Linked DNA regions of Homo sapiens: region 2 is linked to region 1. The links are contacts of gene promoters, found by promoter capture Hi-C in human tissues and cell types (Jung and others, 2019). All regions are on one chromosome and are shown on one strand. The core of a region is centred on a gene start or on the middle of the fragment in contact, and the rest is flanking DNA. Distances in the headings are between cores, read along the strand shown. Region 1 holds the start of OR10D3 (olfactory receptor family 10 subfamily D member 3). Region 2 overlaps VWA5A (von Willebrand factor A domain containing 5A).

The links. The method cuts DNA at HindIII sites, captures the fragments that hold promoters and counts their contacts. A contact is called where the count stands out against the background at its distance.
Region 2: a fragment that was not itself captured here is called in contact with the fragment with the promoter of OR10D3 in region 1 in 3 of the 25 tissues and cell types used here (bladder, pancreas and psoas muscle).

Annotation. Positions count from the first base shown.
Region 1 is chr11:124,181,793-124,185,047 of GRCh38, forward strand. OR10D3 (olfactory receptor family 10 subfamily D member 3) reads left to right here and starts at 1,553. Exons shown (of 2, transcript NM_001355213.3): 1 at 1,553-1,591. The HindIII fragment of the contact is 12,854 bases long and covers 1-3,255 here.
Region 2 is chr11:124,146,232-124,149,061 of GRCh38, forward strand. It overlaps VWA5A (von Willebrand factor A domain containing 5A), which reads left to right. Exons shown (of 19, transcript NM_001130142.2): 19 at 1-1,490. Among named protein-coding and RNA genes, the nearest start is that of VWA5A, 32 kb to the left of the region's middle. The HindIII fragment of the contact is 3,586 bases long and covers 1-2,830 here.

The DNA of each region.
Region 1 (3,255 bases), core at 303-2,802:
TTGACAAATCATTTGAATATCTTGGCAAATGTTGTAATATCTCTTTTCATTCTGCTTAATCCATGTGCTTCTGTCATCCTTTCATTCCTCATGTTTATATGTGCCTTCTCACTTTTTTCAAGAATCATTTTTAAAGAAGTACTTCTATTTTCTTAGTCTTTTCAAAGAGCCAAATTTAGCATTGCTGACCTCTTTTCTTTTGTTTTCTCTACTTTATTATTTCAGGTTTTTACATATTTTTCAGTTCTTTGACAACTCTGTAACTGTTACGTTACATGAAAGAGGAATAATTTCCAGATTACAAATGTCTGGAATCTCAAAGGGCAAGGTTCTTGACTCCTTTCACAGAAGAGAAGGTCAAGATTAAGGAAATTTGTCTTATTCTTGGTTGTATAGGTTATTAATTAATGTTTGTTGAATAATACTTTGATATAATTCTGGGAATATCATCAGGAGAACTATTTCTGGTTCAGGAAATTCAGCTGTGCCAATTGACAAATGTTTGTTGGAGTCTAGGAAAAGAAATTCTATTTCTATATCAAAATATTAGAAACCATAGTCTGAAAAGTAGAAGAACTATGTTAGTTCACTAGGGCTGCCATAACAAAACAGAATATACTAGGTGACACAAACAACAGGAATTTTTTTTCTCGCAGTTCTGCAGATTGTAAAATTCAAGATCAAGGTTGCACAGGTTTTGCAGCAGGGTTTGGTTTCTGGGGCTTAGAGATGGGGCTGTCTTCTTGCTGTGTTCTCACATGGAGAGATAAAGGGAGAGAAAAAGACAGGCAGAGAGAGAGAGAGAAAGAGACAGAGAGAGAGATCTGATGTCTCTCCTTTTACAAAGATACCAGTTCTATTGCATCAGGGCTTCATCCTTATGGTCTCATTTAACTTTATTCACCTTCTTAAAGACCCTACTTCCAATACAGTTACGTGGATTGGGTGTGTTAAGAGTTTCAACACGAATTTTTGAAGGAACACAATTCAGTTCATGGCAAGAACTATGAAGAAACTGAGATTAAAATATTTAAAATTGGATATTTTTAAAAGTCTGAGATATATGGTTGTTAGGTTATTTCTCATTCCGATAATGTATCCTGAAACTGGGTAACTGGTTTCTACATATGTCCTAGGATTGGGCTATACCATTCACCTTTTTTCTCCTTTCCCAGGGTCAATCTTAGAGGTAGAAAATAGAGATTTGGCTCCCCCTTGTTCCTATCCAGCACTGTCACAGTGGGAAACATCACCATATTCTATTTCAACTAGACAGTTTACTCACTTCTAATTACTCCCTTTGCTCAACAACCTCCTTGAATAGGACTCATTCAGGAATGGGGTCCCAAAGGCTCCAAAGATATTTAAATTTCCACGTAGGAGAAAGCAATGTAGATATCAGTGTCTTGGAAGATGTCTGTGCAGAAGACAGAGACGCACGCTGCTGCATGTCATTTAGTCAGAGTTTATTTGGCTAAGAAGAAAGCATTCCAGATCATGGGTGGAGATCCCTAACCTCTAATATGCCAAAGGAAAATTTGGACTAAAAATCCTATACAAACAGATGATTAAATGATCATACTTTCTCTTTGTAAGTTACATAAGTGCCATCTTTGCCTCTTTCTCTCTCTTTCTTTCTCTCTCTCTTTCTCTCTCTCTTTCTCTCTCTTTCTCTTTCTTTCTCTTTTTTTCTCTTTCTTTTTTTTTCTTTCTTTCCCCTTCCTTCCTTCCCTCCCTCCCTCCCTGCCTCCTTCCCTCCTTCCCTCCTTCCCTCCCTCCCTCCCTCCCTGAGTCTCACTCTGTTGGCCAGGCTGAAGTGCAGTGGCACGATCTCAGCTCACTGCAACCTCCACCTCCCGGGTTCAAGCAATTCTCCTGCCTTAGTCTCCAGAGTAGCTGAAATTATAGGGGCCCTCACCTCTTTTTTCACTCCTCTTTTATGCTTTGTGTATCCAATGGAGAGGAAAATTTGGAGTCCTCAGTTTACAAAGTATTCTCAGAATTCAGAATGAACAGAGAGCATGGATCTACTGGCCAGAAGAATAGATCTTATTTGCTTGGTTTATCTTTGAGCCCATTGTGCTGGCCCATCAGCTCACAAACCCCATTCTTGTTATTTCACTTTACAATCAGGAATTTGGACTTGATTTTATATTATTAAAGTAACAGAAACTCTAAATGAGCCCATATGTGGATATCTTCATTTGATTCTTTCTTTGATGTATGACAGCCAGGACATTTTTGGAAGCAGTATAGATTATATGTAGCACTTGTCTTGGGTCTGATTGCTTTTTGGAATGTAGTGTAGAGCTTCTTCTGGAGTGCAGGTGACATGATTGTAAACAGAGAAATTCCAAATATACAGGAAATGGGCAAAAGAGAAACAGGTAGATGATCAAGTTGCTTTAGAAGACTGTGAGGAGAAATTACTATCTGATAGTACCACACAGATCCTTGCACAAGAGGAATGATATCCAATTCTTGCCAGGCATTGAGTGAGTTATCTTATTTCCTTCATCAAACGTTTATTGAAAAAGGCACTGTTCTTTGCACTGAGAGTATAATCGTAAACACAAAAAATATTTACTCTCCTAGATGTTATATTTGTGTGTGTGTGGGGAGGTAGCTGGATATATATTGATTTTCCATTGCTTACTAAGGAGGAGGAGGAACAACATTTTAAGAGCCTGGTGATGTCCAAATGAAAAACATGGTTAATACCGGGGTAAGATTTGACAAGGCCAGTAATGCCGTGATCTATCACAGATGGATCCATCCAGACCCGGGGGAAAGACTGATGTTTAAAAAGAAAAAAAAAGAATGTAGATGCCTAGTTCTACCAAGAACTAGCTGCCTTAATTTAGGAGAGTCACCTAGCCTTCCTACTGCTCAAATGTAATCTTTTCTGTAGACCTCCTCAAAAAGTGACTGCCAGGATTAGATGAACGGAGATCATGTTGTATAAGTGTTTTGAACTGCAAAGCAGGGATCAACCTTTATGATTCCCTTAAAAAACGTAGACATAAAATCTAACGTTGTTGCTAATAATGGCTTACAAATATGATGATTCCCGAATTGTGGTTCATATCTCCAGTGATATAAAAAAGCCCTCAAATAATCCTGACATTTCACATCCTTCTACCCCGGGAGGAGGAGCATGTGTTTGGATGGATCCTGCCCTCTCTTTAAAAATCTTTGCTCTAACAAGGTCAGAATATTGTTTTAATAATGGGCATTTGTATTTCGAATAAGTAT
Region 2 (2,830 bases), core at 90-2,589, 36 kb before region 1:
GGGAAACAACATGAAAAACAGGTGACATGAACTACAGACTAAAGATTGCAGCATTTATGTTAGAGAATGCTTGAATTAGAGAATTTTCTGCATTATCTTTGTCTGTTCACTTTCTATCTTATATACTTATCAGGGCCATACTGGTAAGCTTGCGTAGGAGGAGTTAGAGGGAAGTTGAAAGCCAACATCTGGATCAATGTAATGTCAAGATCACAAAGACAGAGACTGCAGGGGTCCACTGTGAGAGGTGACACTGTTGGGGACCTTCCTGATTCATTCTTCTTGGGCTTTGCTAGCCTGTACAACCTACATGTCTTTTCTTCCACTGCCTGAAAGACTTGGGTTGAACTATAACTGTTGGAGAGAGATGTTCCTCTTTAATCATGAAACACCTTAAGAAGTCTATAATGCAATCCTTAGTCCTACCCTGAACCTATGTGTCCTCTAAGTCAGGCCCTGATCTAGTGCAGTAAAGGGAAGGGTGGGCTTAATGGGAGCTTTGCCTGGGACCTGAACCTGGAGCACTTACCGCATTAGGAAGAAAGGAGCTCCCCGTAATCGTTCCTGACCCTTGTGTCTCATATACCCTATCCTGGTGGAAATGACCCTATTTGATATGCTGTCCCTTAAAATAACTTGTATCAATATTAAAATGACTATTTCTACCCTTTGATGAGTAAATGCAGTGGTTCTTAAAGTGGTCTCGTCTCCCTACCCCACAATATTTTGGTACTGCCACTTTGGGAAGCCAAACTAGGATAGTAAATTGACCGGAACACAGTTGTGGAAATTTGACCTGAAGTTAGTGAAATAAAACTTAGTAGGGAAAAAAAGCTTAGCAAGAGGTCTACTCCTCCATAGATTCATTTATTGAACTTACATTGGTTTTATTGTCCCTTGTTTTCTGTTCCAGCTTTTCTGATGCCTCCACTGTTCCCATGGTATCCTGACCCTCTATCTTCTGTTGTAGGCTGACTTCTTTTATATGAAGCAAGTAAAGGATACTAATAAGAATACCACTGTAGAATCCTGACCATACCCTTAAATAGTTATGTGATGATGGGCAAATGATTTCACCCTCAGGCACTTAATATCCTCATCTGTAAAACTAAGGGATTAAACTAGAACTTTATTAACACTTTCGAGTTCCACTCAGAATTCCTAGAGGAACATCGGTGACTTTTCACTCAGAAAGTGGGTGGACTAGGCCTGAGTTTCTTTAAGTTGTTGAGTTACCTGGTATTAGGAAGACTTGTGTGACTTGCATAGTGGACTCTAATCTCTCAGTCTTTCTTCCAAGTTTGTTTATGCTGAATGTGATCTGCGGAACAGGGTTGTTAGAAATGCAGCTTTTTAGAAATGCAGAATTTTAATCGATACCAGGAACTACTTTATTTAACAAGGCTCCCAGGTATCATGCATGCACATTGAAGTTTGAAAAGTAAAGGCTTAATATTTTCATGAAATAGGCTTATATCCAAGCCTGCCATCTAGATAGGCCCTACCTATGTAATTTCAGAAAATAGTTTCTTAAGGACCGTGAAACTTGTATAGTTAACCTCTGTGCACACAATGCTGTGACTTTACATTTATTATGCGGAGCGCTTATCGTTTACCTCCTTTTTTCTCACCCTTCAACTTCCAGACTGGGGCTTGTGGACTTAGTGCGGGGCGTTCTAAAACAAAAACTAAACGAACTAAAAGAAACAAAAAAAAAATTATCAACCTGTCTTTTGACCTCTTTAAAATAAGACAACTACAGTTTTAAAGTGGCGTGGTTTTATTTTTCCATTTGGGCTCCTGCACAGTGAAATGTTGTGCCAACTGTAAATTCCTCGAATCTAAACAAGTGTCAGTCTTCATAATCAGCAAATGGCATTTTGGCACATTTGTTGAAACCCCATTTCAAGTCTGATGCTTTATGTTTTGGGAAAGTATAAAGAACCATCTGTAATTTCAGAAACTGGTGGTCCAGGCAAGGAGCCCAGGAGAGAAGCTGTTCTCATCTCCCATTAGTTGCCTTTATCTAGTGCTTGTTTCCCCCACAGCAGCAGACTTGGCCACAGGAAAAGTGGCAGATACCATTCCCTCAAGATTCTTCCACTCAAACAGGCCAGGAGCTCCCCTGGAGGGTTCTCTGTTCTACACAGACTTACTAATGAAATCCATCCTCCGTCTTCCCCAACTCTAACACAGTCCCACTCAGGGTCACTGAGCATCTGCTCTTCCTCTCCCAACTCACAGCAATTCCTTCCTTAAAAACAGTCCATCTGCTTTCTGGAGTATCTGATTGACCAGGAGAAAACCAAAAAAAAAAACCCATGCAGTGAACTGTGTATTTTATCAGTTTTTACCTCATATATTTTGATATTCTCCTAAGTGCATATACATTTAAAATTATCATACATCCTTGGAAAATTGACTCTTTTATCATTATTTAATGCTCAACTTTATTCCTGATTTTTGTTGTTGTTGTTCTGAAGTTGGCTTTGTCTGAAATTTACGTAACTACTGCAGCTTTCTGCTGATTGGTTTTGGCAGGGTGTATCTTTCTCCATCCCTTCACTTTTAGCCTATATGAGTCTTTTTATTTAAAGTGGATTTTTGGAAACAACATGTGGTTGGGTCTTATTTATTTGTTTTTGTTTGCTTTTAATCCACTCTGGCAATCACTACTTTTAAATTATCGACCCATATCATCTATATTTAGAGTAATTATTGATAAAATTAGGTTAATATCTACCATGTTTGTCAACTGTTTACTATTTATTGCATTTTTTTCTTTTATTTTTTCATTTTTGCCTTTTCTCACTTTAACCAGGCATTTTGT